Linked DNA regions of Homo sapiens: all the other regions are linked to region 2. Evidence: promoter capture Hi-C in 16 types of primary human blood cells and fetal thymus (Javierre and others, 2016). All regions are on one chromosome and are shown on one strand. The core of a region is centred on a gene start or on the middle of the fragment in contact, and the rest is flanking DNA. Distances in the headings are between cores, read along the strand shown. Region 1 has its middle 28 kb from the start of UTP14A. Region 2 holds the start of ZDHHC9 (zDHHC palmitoyltransferase 9). Region 3 overlaps SASH3 (SAM and SH3 domain containing 3).

Region 1 (4,680 bases), core at 1,580-4,079, 35 kb after region 2:
ACTCCAGATGCTGTGGAAACCACATCCTTCCAGGCACGCTCCCTAGCAACTAGCCAAGCAGAAAGCATTATGACAAAGTCTCCAGATGCTGGGAGCAAAGCTGAGCACCCCAAGAACAGCCACACTGAGATGGGCTGTCTCCCATCAACGTTTTTCTGAGCCCAGTCAACATATGTCAAAGTTCAAGTTTTAACAGGTTTGGTGGCTAGCGCTTGTAATTCCAGCTACTAATGAGGCTGGGGCAGGAGGATCACTTGAGCCCAGGAGTTCAAGGTTGTGGTAAACTATGACTGTGCCACTGCACTCCAGCCTGTGCGAAAAGGAGAGACCCTGTCTCTAAAAAATAAAAATGAAAAGTTGAAGTTCCTGGTAATACAAATAGGAGACAGGGAAATACTGGACAGAAGAGGGCAGTTCCCCAGCAAAGGCCCCACCCTCAAGCCTGGATATCCACAGCCCTAAGTGAGAACAGGCATTCCTGTTTTTGTGCCGAAAATGTTGCCTTTTGGCCCATCACGCCCCCATCCTGTACCCATATAAACCCCAAACCCGAGGCTCCAGAAGCAGGAGATGAGGAGATGAGCAGACAAATGGCAGAATGGCACGGCACAGGAGAGAAGAGAAGAAACGTCAGGAGTTTTGCTGGGGGTGGTCAGAGAATCAGCCACCAGATGGCCAAACTGCAAGGGAAGATCATCTTCCCACTCCATCCCCTGTCCAGCTCCTCATCTATCCCACTGAGAGCCACCTCCACCACCCAATAAAACCCTGCATTCTCCATCCTTCAAGTCCATGTGTGACCTGATTCTTCCAGGATTCTGGACAACAGCTCAGGATACAGAAAACTGTCACACTGGCCCTCTGCCTTTGCAGAAAGGCAGAGGGTCCACTGAGCTGATTAACACTTAAGCCATCTGCAGATGGCAAGGCTAAAAGAGTGCACTGTAACACACGCCCACTTGGGCTCCTGCACCTGTCTGTCTGTGTACTCCCCCTCCTGTAAGAGGTTTGAGCAGCGACCAAACAGACAAGCCACACCCATCACACGTCCTGTGAGGGGGGCCAGGGAACTCTCCCCTTTCACTGGCACATTTGTTGGATCCTCAATCATGTCCCTGGTGTTAGCGGCCCAGCCACACTGACAGGCCAAGCAACACAGCTGCACACAGTGTGAGAAGAACTTCTTATCCACTAGTGCTCTTCAGATTCACAAGTGGACTCACACTAGAGAATAGCCTTTTGTGTGCAGCATACATGGGCAAGCTTTTACCACCAAAGGCAACTTGAAGGTCCACTGTATGACTCATGGAGCAAACAATAACTCAGCACACCAGAGAAGGAAGCTAGCCATTGAGAACACTATGGCTTAATTAGGTATGAATGGAAAGAATCTCAGAAATGTTTACTGGAAATCCTGGCCCCTTCAGTGAAGGTGGTGGAACCAATATACCAACATGCTCAACAGTGGTCTTGCCATGAAGACTAGCGAGATCTCTATGACCCAGAGTGGTGGTGTTCCCACCCTCCCAGTTTCTGTGGGGGCCAACTCTGCTGTGAATAACACTGCTGAGTCCAAGATGGATGGCTCCCAGTCAGGTATCAGTGCCAATGTGGAAAAACCAGGTGCTACTGAGACTGTTCCCACACATTGGTTCCCTCACTTCCTGGAAGAAAACAAGATTGTGGTCAGCTAAGCTAAAGGGGAACTTGCCTGGAAGAAGAAATGTAGACAGAGTGAAATGTCTAGACCATGCTTGTTCAACCCTCAGCCCGCAGGCCACATGCAGCCCAGGGCGGCTTTGAATGTGGCCCAACACAAATTCGTGAAGTTTCTTAAAACATTCTGAGATTTTTTTGTGATTTTTTTTTTAAGCTCATCGGCTATTGTTAGTATTCGTGTATTTTATGTGTGGCCCAAGACAATTCTTCTTCCAAGGTGGCCCAGGGAAGCCAAAAGATTGGACACCCCTAGTCTAGACTGTGCTTTTTATTCTTTTATTATTTTTTATTTGTATAAATTTATGGGGTGCAAGTGTAATTTTGTTACCTGCATAGATTGTGTAGTGGTGAAGTCAGGGCTTTTAGGGTATTGATCACCCAAATAACCTACAATGTACCCCTTAAGTAATCACTCATTATCCACCCCTTGCCTTACCCTTCCAAGTCTCTGTTGTCTATCATTCCACACACTACCTCCGTGTGTACACTTTATTTAGCTCCCACTTATAAGTGAGAACATGTGATATTTGTCTTTCTGTGCCTGGCTTGTTTCACCAAAGTTAATGGCCTCCAGTTCCATCCATGTTGCTGCAAAAGACATGATTGCATTTTTTTATGGCTGCATAGTATTCCATGATGTATACATACCACAGTTTCTTTATCTAATCCTCCGTTGATGGACACTTAGGTTGATTCCTTATCTTCGCTATTGTGAATAGTGCTGTGATAAACATACTATTGCAGGTGTCTTTTTGATATAATGATTTATTTTTCTTTGGGTAGATACCCGGTAGTGGGATTGCTGGATGGAAAGTAGTTGCATTTTTCGTTCTTTGAGAAATCTCCATACAGTTTTCCATAGAGGTTACACTAATTTACATTCCCACCAACAGTGTATAAGAGTTCATTCCCTTTTCTCCCCATCCTCACTAACATCTGTTAGTTTTTCTCTTTTTAATAATAGCCATCTGACTAGTGTAAGATGGTTTATCATTGTGGTTTTAATTTGCACATCTCTGATGATTAGCGATGTTGAGCATTTTTTCATGTCCGTTGGCCACTTGTCTTCTTTTGAGAAATGTCTATTCATGTCCTTTGCCCACTTTTTAATGGGATTATTTGTTTTCTTTTTTTTAAAAAAAAAACCCATCTCCTCCTCCCGTTTTCCTTATTCTTACTGATATGCAAATGATGTTTACAGATGGCAATCTCAGGCAGTTCTACAATCACAATTGTTATGCTGCTTTGCAAAACATAAAAACAAAAAAATCAAAAAAAGAAAATATCTATACCAAAACAAATACAGACTATAATTATTTTTTAATTTTGGAAAGAAGCAAGTCTTGAAAGTAGCTTTGTTACTTCCAACAAACTATATACATAGAAATTCTGTACAGCCTACAGTAACTACTTCCCAAGACTGTCGCCTATTTCAAGGTGGAACAGTTTGAACTTATTGAACCACAGTGGAAAAGACAACTACTTAGATTAATGGGGTGAGGAGGAGTACTGTATACTTCCATGATAACTGTCTGCAAGTAAATGGACAAGGTTATCATCTATTTAGGAACCTGTTTTGTATGTCTCCTAACCCTGTACCCATCTTTTGTTTTTTGAAAGTACTTTCAAAAATAAAGCAAAAAAAAAGATTATAGAATTACAAATTCCTCCAACATTTTTTTTTTTTTAAGACGGAGTCTCGCTCTTTTCACCCAGGCGGGAGTGCAGTGGCGCTATCTCAGCTCACTGCAAGCTCCGCCTCCCAGGTTCACGCCATTCTCCTGCCTCAGCCTCCCCAGTAGCTGGGACCACAGGCGCCCGGCTAATTTTTTTGTATTTTTTTAGTAGAGAGGGGGTTTCACCGTGTTAGCCAAGATGGTCTCGATCTCCTGACCTCGTGATCCACCTGCCTCGGCCTCCCAAAGTGCTGGGATTACAGGCGTGAGCCACCGCACCTGGCCTAATTCCTCCAACTTTTTTTGTTTTCTAGATGGAGTCTCGCTGTCACCCAGGAGGCTGGAGTGCAAGGGCGCAATCTCGGCTCACTGCAACTTCCACCTCTGGGGGTCAAGGGATTCTCCTGCCTCAGCCTCCCAAGTAGCTGGGATTACAGGTACCCACCACCACACCCAGCTAATTTTTGTATTTTTAGTAGAGACGGGGTTTCAGTTTCACCATGTTGGCCAGGCTGGTCTCAAACTCCTGGACTCAAGTGATTTGCCCCACCTCAGCCTCCCAAAGTGCTGGATTACAGGGGTGAGCCACTGTGTCTGGACTCCTTTAACTTTAGAACTTTAAATAGGATGTCCTCAAATGGACTTATGTTAGTTGTTAGGGAGTCAATGTCTGCTTATTTAAAAAACAGCTCAGTTGCAGCCACAAGAGTTCAAATGTATTCCACACACTTCCCTTTGCCTTCCTGAACACCAGAAGAGGTGGGCCACTGAGCAAGGAATCTCAGGTGACTTAATTTAGTTCACCAGTGCCCACTCTGTTGAAGAACTGGATTTTCATTCCAGAGGAGAAACTCATGGGAAGGAGTGTTTCCTTTCACAGGGTCACATACTAATTTTTAAAAAATATAGTTGGTGCAACTTATGCCAAGTAATTATGCAGATTTTTTGCCCTGAGTATTGCATGAAGGCTACAAAGTTGGAACAGGCAAATCCTGGGTATGAAAGCTTTAGTTTAAATATTTCACTTTTTTTGTAGCCATAGTGTCTATTTTCCTATTTTATGACCACTGAAGTATTCCCAGGCCCTGTCTTTTTGTTTGTTTGTTTGTTTGTTTTTGAGACGGAGTCTCACTCTGTCACCCAGGCTGGAGTACAGTGGCACAATCTCAGCTCACTGCAACCTCCGCTTCCCAGGTTCAAGGGATTCTCCTGCCTCAGCCTCCCAAGTAGCTGAGACTACAGGCATGTGCCACCATGCCCGGCTAATTTTTTGTATTTTTAGTAC
Region 2 (4,419 bases), core at 660-3,159:
CGATTACACGAGAGAAGAAACAGAGGCTGAGCCCAGCTTTGAAATCACGTTGCCTGCTATTCCTGCCGCTGGGTCAAACATCATCAAAAGTCCAATTGCTAGCCCTAAGAAAAAGCAGAAAAAGAAAAAAAAATGAGGCAATAATAAGAAAATACAGTTCAACCCTCCTTTCCCAGAGACAGAAAGTTGAAAACTGACTGAAGGGGTGGGGACGGGGAAGTGGGAAAAGTTTATTTCCAATTCGTGTTTGTTCTCTAAAAGAAGGTATGATAAAAGGTTCTCAAAAAAGGAAAGGGGCTAGTATTTCTTCTTAAATAAGCCTCTATGCTTCCAATCTAATGCTGATGATCTGATCATCACAGAACCTTGGAACTAGAGAGGATTTTATAGGTGATCGTGCCAATTATTAATACTTTGTTTTGTAAATGAGTAAACTGAGGACCAGAGAGAGGAAATAACTTATCCAGGACCACACAGCAGCAATGCTGATACTGCTAACTTCCAGTCAAGGGCATGTTCCACTATGCCACAGTGTTCTTTCAACATCATTAAAAGGACTCTAAAAATAATAGTAGAGTTTCTGTCCTTATAAAACCTCCCTCCCTTCCTCCACTTCACCTTCTTTCTTCAATTAGCCACTCGAATATGAATCACAGCAGGGAACAAGTCACCCTCTGGCAGGGCCAGGAGGTTCTGGACGCTCTGTGCACATACGTGCATTGTATTTACACAAAACAGATTTCCCCTCATCAAACCCTCTGCAACTTCCTGAGTCCGGGAAATGAAACAATCTGGCTGGTCTAGCCTAACATTTGTGAGAATCTTAATGAAACCACATCAGAGACCTGTAGGTGAAAGGCTGACTTAAGCAGGAGAGATTCTGGAATGGTTGGTGACTGCTGATGGCTGGTTGGGGGGTGGGGAATGGCAGCAGCTAAGAAAAGTCACAAGGGCGCTTTCTGGGACATGTCCTAAGTACCATCTCTACTCAGCATCCTGAATTCCCAGGCCCAGAGTTTCTCAGCCTCTGCTACCCTTCTCCTCCGCTCAGGTGTGGTGTTGTGGCCTCTATTTACCGACACCACATGCCCCACGCTGGCAGGACTGAGGCGGAAGCCTGCAGCCCGACGGACGGAGGGAGAAACAGCCAACTCGCGGGCTGGAGAGGGCAAAGGTCCAAAAACAGCCTAGGAGCGGAGCAGGGAAACGAGAAGGTAGAAGGTTCGGGGAAGGGGAGGGGGGCCCAGAGGTGCAGAGAACCCGTCCTTTGTGTAAAACTAACCTGGAAGACAATCTCCTCCCGATAAACCGGCCCAGCGGGAGAAGGGAGACCAGGAAGGGGGAGCCGGCCTGGAAGAACAAAGATCAAAATCCGTCGGGAAGCAGCGACCGGCTCCCCAGCGGGGGGCCGGAGGCCGGAGGCCGGAGTCCGGGGCCGAGCCGCGGGCGCGGCCTCTCGAGGCCCGCCCTGACTCCGCCACGCCGCGGACCACCGCCCCAGGCAGGTTGGGACGCGCGCCACATCCACACGCACACGCAGCCACACGCTCGTACACACTCACACACGCCCCGCCACGTGTAGTCACCCCGGGCCAGGGGCTCGGCGGCTGCCGAGTTGAGAAGGGCGGTGCCGACGTCCCCGCCTCCAGGCGCCGCGGAAGGGGAGGCAGCCCACCCTGCAGCCGAGCCCAGGAGACCCCCGCCCCCACCCCTCGTTACCTGAACCACGGAGACCCAACTCGGCCGGCAGCTGACGGCAGGAAACGGACCGTCCCAGGGAATCACGTCGGCAGCCAAAGGTGGCAGCGACTTGTCCTCCCCGGGCCGGGAGGCTGTCTCCTCCTGACAAGGGGCCCCAGTGGTCGGGGCCCTAAACCAGCTGTGGCAACCGCCCACCACTGGCCAAATGGAACGCTCCTCACGTCACCAGGTCGCTCCAGTAGTTGCTCGCCCTCTATTGGCCGATCGGCCTCGGCGCCTCCGCCCCGGCCGCCCCTATCCCGAACTGCCATTGGTTTTGCCTAACGCCACTCGACGATGCCTCCGCCCACTCCTCCACCCATCTCCCTGCTGCATGCCCACCTGCCAAGCCACTGCCAGCCTCTCTTTGGGGTCTGAGCGCCAGTATGTGAAGTGTTGCCTTCTATTAATATAGTTACGCAGAGACGGAGGTTAAGGGTAGTGCCGATGGGACAGCAAAGGGTGGAACCAGCCTACACACACGCGCGCGCGCGCGCACACACACACACGCGCGCGCACACACACACACAGTGAGATGCTGAAGCAACACTAGCTCACAGATCCGGGTGCTCACCCCAAACTAGGTCTGCCATGGGCCTCTCCAGCCCTGCTTGCATTTTAAAATCAACCGCAACTTGAGATTTTACTCTTTATCGGCATAAAAACAAGTCATCTGCCTCCCAAGTCTCATTCAGTAGCCAGGGACCCCATATCTGTCCCAGTCACCCTAGCCTGCATCTCTAAGTCTTTCAAATCAAAACACACAAACAAGCATAAAAAGCATGTTGTAAAGGATAAATGTCCCCAAGAACGTATTATCATTTTGCAGCACCTAAAACAACTAATTGACATTAATGGAGTTAAAGAAACTCCACTGAGGACATAAATTCTTCCAGGTAGGTAATGAAGTAAAGATTGCCAAAAAGGTTGTAAATTTTTATTCGGTTTGGAAAGCTTATGATGATTAAGGGGAGAATCCAAGGCAGAATTCCCACCCACCAACCAGATTGATTTTTTCCTTCTGCCACCCAGCTCTGCATTACTGCCACCATGAGCCACTGCTACTGATCCGAGTGAGTTGCATGCATTAAAAGTTTGAGATTGGGCTGGGCGCGGTGGCTCACGCCTGTAATCCCAGCACTTTGGGAGGCCGAGGCAGGTGGATCACCTGAGGTCAGGAGTTCAAGACCAGCCTGGCCAACATGGCAAAACCCGTCTCTACTAGAAAGACAAAAGTTAGCGGGGAGCGGTGGGACTCGCCTGTAGTCCCAGCTACCAGGGAGGCTGAGGCAGGAGGATCACTTGAACCCAGGAGGTGAAGGTTGCAGTGAGCCAAGATCATGCCACTGCACTCCAGCCTGGGCGACAGAGAGAGACCCTGTCTTAAAAAAAAAAAAAAAAAAGTTTGAGATTGAAGGGGGGAAACAATTGAGAACCACAGTATTATACTATAGGGTGACTTTAAAAGACACTAGGTCTGTTTTCACCAGTATGGCTCCTGCCTTCCAAATATAAGAGGAAATATGAGAAAAGGTTGAAGGTGGCATCTCCTTTCCAAGTGTAAGAGGAGATAAGAGAAAAGGTTGAAGATTGGAGGAGAATGCCTACATTACCAGCCTAGGTTTTCCTAAGCGTGATAAAAATTTCAAAGTTTTAGAGATTTGGTATTTGGAATTAGTACAGAAGAGACTGCCAAAGCTCTTCCTAAGGCAGTTGTATGTTAGTTGAAGGACCACATACATGGTCAAGAACTATTTTTCCTTTACAGTATATGTGTCCCACACAATATGAAACAAAAAGCTACATAATAATTACATTTGACACTTTCATGGCACCCTTCAAAATTCTTAAAGGATTTAAAAAACACTAGGTAATTCTGAGATGTGTTGTAATTAACTTGCAAAGGAAGGTTTGTCTTTATAAAGCTTCCATTGTTCCTTAGCACTCATGCTGATTATGATCAACAGTTTATTCCTCATGAAGTGTACGATCAGTATCATTGCCTCCAATTCTCCCGCTTTGAATTCTGGAGGGTGCTGGTATTGCACACACTTGGTATGGGAGGGAGAAGAACTTCCCTAAACCTCATCAGCCCTGTGGATTTCCAAGCCTATGTATATCAGATGCCCTTAGGAATAGTATGGTCACCCCAGCTGCCATCCTTCTGACTATGGAGCAGTGAAAAATAAGCCTCTGTAGCACTCAAACATATTTTGTCCATAGCTCAGGTGCAGGTGAAGCCTGAGGAGTCCTGGAATCGATGTGTCATGGTGACACATTCCTGAGCTCTGTCCCTCCCTGCTCTGGGTCACATTCCCTCTCGGACTAAGTGGCTATGTGAGTCAGGCTTGTTTTATTACAATCTGTTATTATTTATTCTCAACACTCAAAGAAAAATAAGGAAAATTTATGTGGACAAACATCCCATAGTACTTCCTCCTATGTAGTTACATCATTTTATATAATCCTTAAAGTCTTAATACACACACACAACTAAATTGTGACTATAAACTGAGACTGTTTTTTCCTATTCTTTTCTCTTCTCTTTTCAACAGACTTCCCACTTTTTACATCCAAGTCAGTGTTGGCTCTTTTGAAAAGAGGTTATAGGCCGGGCACAGTGGCTCACGTCTGTAATCCCAGCACTATGGGAGGCCAAGGCAGGCAGATCACTTGAGG
Region 3 (4,419 bases), core at 562-3,061, 52 kb before region 2:
ATCACACAGTGGGTTTGGGTTGCCATGGCTCTAAAAGGAGCCACTGAGGCAGTGGTGTGCTGGAGTTGGCTCGTACTGGGCTTATACCAGCTCACAAGAGCAGTTGGTCAAACTGTCAAAAATTGTGCAAGCCAGTTGTTAAACACAACCATTATTAAAAATCAAATTAAAGAAACTTACAATTCAGTTAATTATATTTTTTTAAAAAGGTAAACTGGGCATGGTGGTGTACACCTATAATCCCAGCTACTCAGGAGGACGAGGCAAGATGATTGCTTGAGCCCAGTAAGAGTCCAGCCTGGGCAACATAGGGAGACTCTGTCTCTAAATAAATAAATTTAAAAAAATAAAATTTTGTAAAAACGAACAAAGGTAATACAGTAAATCTTCAAAACTCATCACTTCCTAATTCTTGTACTACCTTTTACTCTTATCAATGCTGCTGAGGTTACGTGCATCCATAGCATCTTCATGGTGGCAATAGCCTCACCCTCATTTCAGACAACACGTCCAGTGATGTCAAAATGGTAGCTTGACATTGGCCGTGGAGGGGAGTGTTTACAACACAGGAATTGGCAACTCATCAGGGCCAGCTGTTAAACAGTTATCACCTCACTGAGGTGTGGTGAGGTAGGGGGAGCTCTGGAGTCTGGCTTGGTTGTGGGTTGCCTTGGGACTTGAACCTGAATTCCCTTGGCCTGAGTTTACAGATGAGGAGTAAGTAACCCTTGGGCCTTACTCCTCATTTGTAAACTCAGGCCAACAATACCACTTACCTTCAAGTGTCACTGTAAGGATTCAGTGAAATGGCAGGCAGGCCTGGCACACAGAAACACAGGCAAAAGTAGTTTCCTCTCTAGCGACATTGTCTGCCCAGTTGTGCGGTAGCAATGGTTGAGTCCAGGTTGTGCCACCGTGGTCTTTTCTGTATGTACATCGGCACTTGAGGCTGACAAAAGCACATCCACATGGTGCCCTGGTTGAACCTGTTTCTGTGAGGTAACCAGGGCAAGGACTGTCACTCTCATTTTTACAAAAGGGGAAGAAACTAGGGCTCAGAGAGTGCCATTCAGCCTATAAGTGGTAGAGTTGGGGTTTGAGCCAGCCCCTAGCTCTTCACTAAGCCCAGGCCCATTTCTTCAGCTTCATGCACACCCCAGCAAGGCTCCTTAAAGCTTCCCGCCTACCCTCCCTGCAGGCAGACACTCTGGAGGAGGGCTCTGCCTCCCCGACATCTCCAGACTACAGCCTGGACAGCCCTGGCCCTGAGAAGATGGCGCTGGCCTTTTCTGAGCAAGAGGAGCATGAACTTCCGGTGCTCAGCCGCCAGGCATCAACAGGTGAGTAGGGGATGCGGGGGACACCTGCCGAATCTGGAGGAAAGGACTGGGTTACAGCCGTGCTGGTGGCACACTGTCTGGGCGGGGGGTAAGAGAAATGAATGCTTACTCTTTGCCTGCTGGGAACATTCTCAGTCCTCTTCACATTAAATCTTCTCAACAACCTCATGGGGCCAGTACTGTTATCCTTGCTTTATTGATGTGGAAACAGGGTCTTAGGGAGGTTAAGTGACTTGCCCAAGATGACCCAGTCTTGAACTCAGATGTACCGTAGAGGAACTTCCACTTGCTATCCTCAGGCCCCGGAGAGGCCCACGGGCAGAGGAAGAGTCTCAGTCACCCTCTTGGACCAGCCCGTCCCCACCTTTCCAAGGGGAGCTAGAGGCTACAGATCCCTGGGCCTCTGATGCCCCAGTCGGGGGTGGGCGTATGAGGTCTCCAGCTGTGAAGAGTCAGCCTCTTGACCCTAGACCATAGTTGCTGGGCTCAGGGCATCACCTGGCATCTTCTAGAAGTCCATGGGACAGGACAAGAGGTGCCAGCAGGGAACTCGTCCAGGCAGGGGCTTTGGGTTCTGCAGCCCCATTCAGCACCGCCTTTCTTGCCCCTCAAGTCCACTCCAAGTTTCCTGCTTTCTCTGCCTCCACAGACACTTCCCTGCCCCCGACTGAAAATCATTCAAAATGCCCACTACTCTGTACTTCCCAGGGAGAAGGAGCCCAACTGAGTTTCTATGTGACATTGTAACTACACATTGAGTTAAGCAGGGAAAGTCAAATATGAATGCAGGGCATAGCTTCCTGGGTGGAGGGAGCGTTGGAGTGGGTATCAGGGAACATGGAGTCTAATGGACTGACTCAGTGCTGCCAGTTATAAAATGAGAAGCCTTGAGCAGTTCACTTGGTCTGTGTGACCTCAGATTTCCGCATCTGTTCATTGGAGTGTTGGCCCAGTTGTTCTCTAGAGGCCCTCCTAATTTGCCCATTCTTTGGTCAGTGAGCCATTTCTCCTCCCATTGCCAACTCTTTTCATGTCCAAGGGCCCAGAGGTGAAGCCGTGCTCCTGGTCGGTAGCCAAGGGGGTGGTTCAGAATCCCTTCTGCAGTGTAAAGCTTGCCAGAGCCCAGCTGCCTTCCCGGTGTATACCCTTGGGATTTCTAGGCAGGTCCCCTGGAAGGCACCTGCTAGGCACTGTCTCAGCTGTTCTAGGACAAAGGTGAGCCTCCTCCCTGCCCCATCTCCTGCAGGCAGTGAGCTCTGCAGCCCCAGCCCAGGTTCTGGCAGCTTCGGGGAGGAACCACCTGCCCCCCAGTACACAGGGCCTTTCTGTGGCCGGGCACGAGTCCACACCGACTTCACTCCCAGCCCCTATGACCACGACTCGCTGAAACTGCAGGTAAGATCAGCATCCGGGCTTCTCTGGAGCCTGGCAGGCTGTGCCCAAAAAGGAAGCTGGACTGAACCAGGCTATGACAGTGTCAGTGGAGGCCAAGGCCCCCCATATCCTCTCTCCCTTGCTCCCTTCTCCTCTCCTCTCCCCCAACAGAAAGGAGATGTGATCCAGATCATTGAAAAGCCACCTGTGGGCACGTGGCTGGGCCTACTCAATGGCAAGGTGGGCTCTTTCAAATTCATCTATGTGGATGTGCTGCCCGAGGAGGCCGTGGGGCATGCCCGCCCCAGCCGCCGACAGAGCAAGGGCAAGAGGCCCAAGCCTAAGACCCTGCATGAGCTGCTGGAGCGCATCGGCCTGGAGGTTTGAGCTTGGTCCTCACTAGTATCTAGTATCAGGGAGGCACAACTGCCCCAGGGATGGGGACCAGGAAATGACAGCTATGCGTAGTTGGGGAGGACCTAGGCAGGGGTGGCTGGTAAGCAGCTGTGCCGATGGCCTGCCTCTGCCTACAGGAGCACACATCCACCCTCCTGCTCAATGGCTACCAGACACTGGAAGACTTCAAAGAGCTGCGAGAAACACACCTCAATGAGCTGAACATCATGGATCCACAGCACCGGGCCAAGCTGCTCACGGCCGCCGAGCTGCTGCTGGACTATGACAGTGAGTGGCTTTAGGAGCGGCCTGGTGAGGGTGTGTGCCCACCGGCATTCCAGGGAGGGGAGGCTTGCCCTGGCCTTGCCTTCTGTCCACGCTCTGCCCTAGGACTGCTCTGCAGTGGAAAGGTACTTTCCACTTGAATTAGAATTTCAGGGAAAGTGTACGGGAGAAAGGAGTTGTAGGGATGATTGGGCCCAACCTCCTTTGGATCAAAGGGGACCCTTAAGGCCAAAGAAGGCAAAGCCTTACTTGAGGCCTCAAAGCTGAGTAATAACAGAGCCAGGATTCAAGCCCACTGCCTGGCTCCAGCTTAGTGCTAAAGAAGTGTGAGCTCCTGGACTGCAGAGCTGGCCTGGAAACAACTCCTACCAGCTTCTAAGCTGGAAGCAGTGAGGAGAGGGGCAGGGCGGTGGCAGGTGCCCAGAAGGAGAGACTGCCTATGGTGTATTTCCCAAGGTCCCTACCTCCACCCCCATATTCTGTCTCCCTCTCTCGTCCCTGGCAGCTGGCAGTGAGGAGGCTGAAGAGGGCGCCGAGAGCAGCCAGGAGCCAGTGGCACACACAGTGTCGGAACCCAAGGTGGACATCCCGCGCGACTCAGGCTGCTTTGAGGGCTCGGAGAGCGGGCGCGATGACGCAGAGCTGGCAGGCACTGAGGAGCAGCTGCAAGGCCTCTCCCTGGCCGGGGCACCTTGAGGTGGCGGTGGCAATAGGCCAAGGCTGGGACCCAGCTGCAAAGGCTGTAGGAGTGGGCCCAGCCTCCCGTGGTGGCCCAGGTCCTGAGGACTGGCACTGAGCCTGGCCCTGCTTCCCCAGGGACACTTAGGGCCACAGAGGCCAGGCCAGGGCCCTACAGGTTCCAGGCTCAGCTGGAGTGGTTGGGGAGTCGCCCAAGGGCACATCCCACCTGCCTGAGCCCCGCCCTCCACCAGCGACTGACAGCGCAGCCCCTCCTGGCACCAACTGCTCCCCTGCCATGGCCACGGCCACAGCAAGTGGGGCACTGGGAAACCCTGCCCATGTC

The links. The method cuts DNA at HindIII sites, captures the fragments that hold promoters and counts their contacts. A CHiCAGO score of 5 or more calls a contact.
Region 1: a fragment that was not itself captured here is called in contact with the fragment with the promoter of ZDHHC9 in region 2 in 5 of 17 cell types (M0 macrophages, M2 macrophages, M1 macrophages and 2 more); the score reaches 6.4 in M0 macrophages.
Region 3: a contact is called between a fragment that was not itself captured here and the fragment with the promoter of ZDHHC9 in region 2, in 2 of 17 cell types (non-activated CD4 T cells and neutrophils). The highest score is 5.6, in non-activated CD4 T cells.

What each region holds. Positions count from the first base shown.
Region 1 is chrX:129,875,880-129,880,559 of GRCh38, forward strand. It overlaps the pseudogene SALL4P2. Among named protein-coding and RNA genes, the nearest start is that of UTP14A, 28 kb to the right of the region's middle. The HindIII fragment of the contact is 3,137 bases long and covers 1,262-4,398 here.
Region 2 is chrX:129,841,977-129,846,395 of GRCh38, forward strand. ZDHHC9 (zDHHC palmitoyltransferase 9) reads right to left here and starts at 1,910. Exons shown (of 11, transcript NM_016032.4): 1 at 1,720-1,910; 2 at 1,283-1,350; 3 at 1-104. The HindIII fragment of the contact is 4,624 bases long and covers 1-2,692 here.
Region 3 is chrX:129,789,742-129,794,160 of GRCh38, forward strand. SASH3 (SAM and SH3 domain containing 3) reads left to right here. Exons shown (of 8, transcript NM_018990.4): 4 at 1,199-1,340; 5 at 2,587-2,735; 6 at 2,886-3,095; 7 at 3,248-3,398; 8 at 3,901-4,419. The coding sequence ends at 4,091. Among named protein-coding and RNA genes, the nearest start is that of SASH3, 12 kb to the left of the region's middle. The HindIII fragment of the contact is 1,276 bases long and covers 1,174-2,449 here.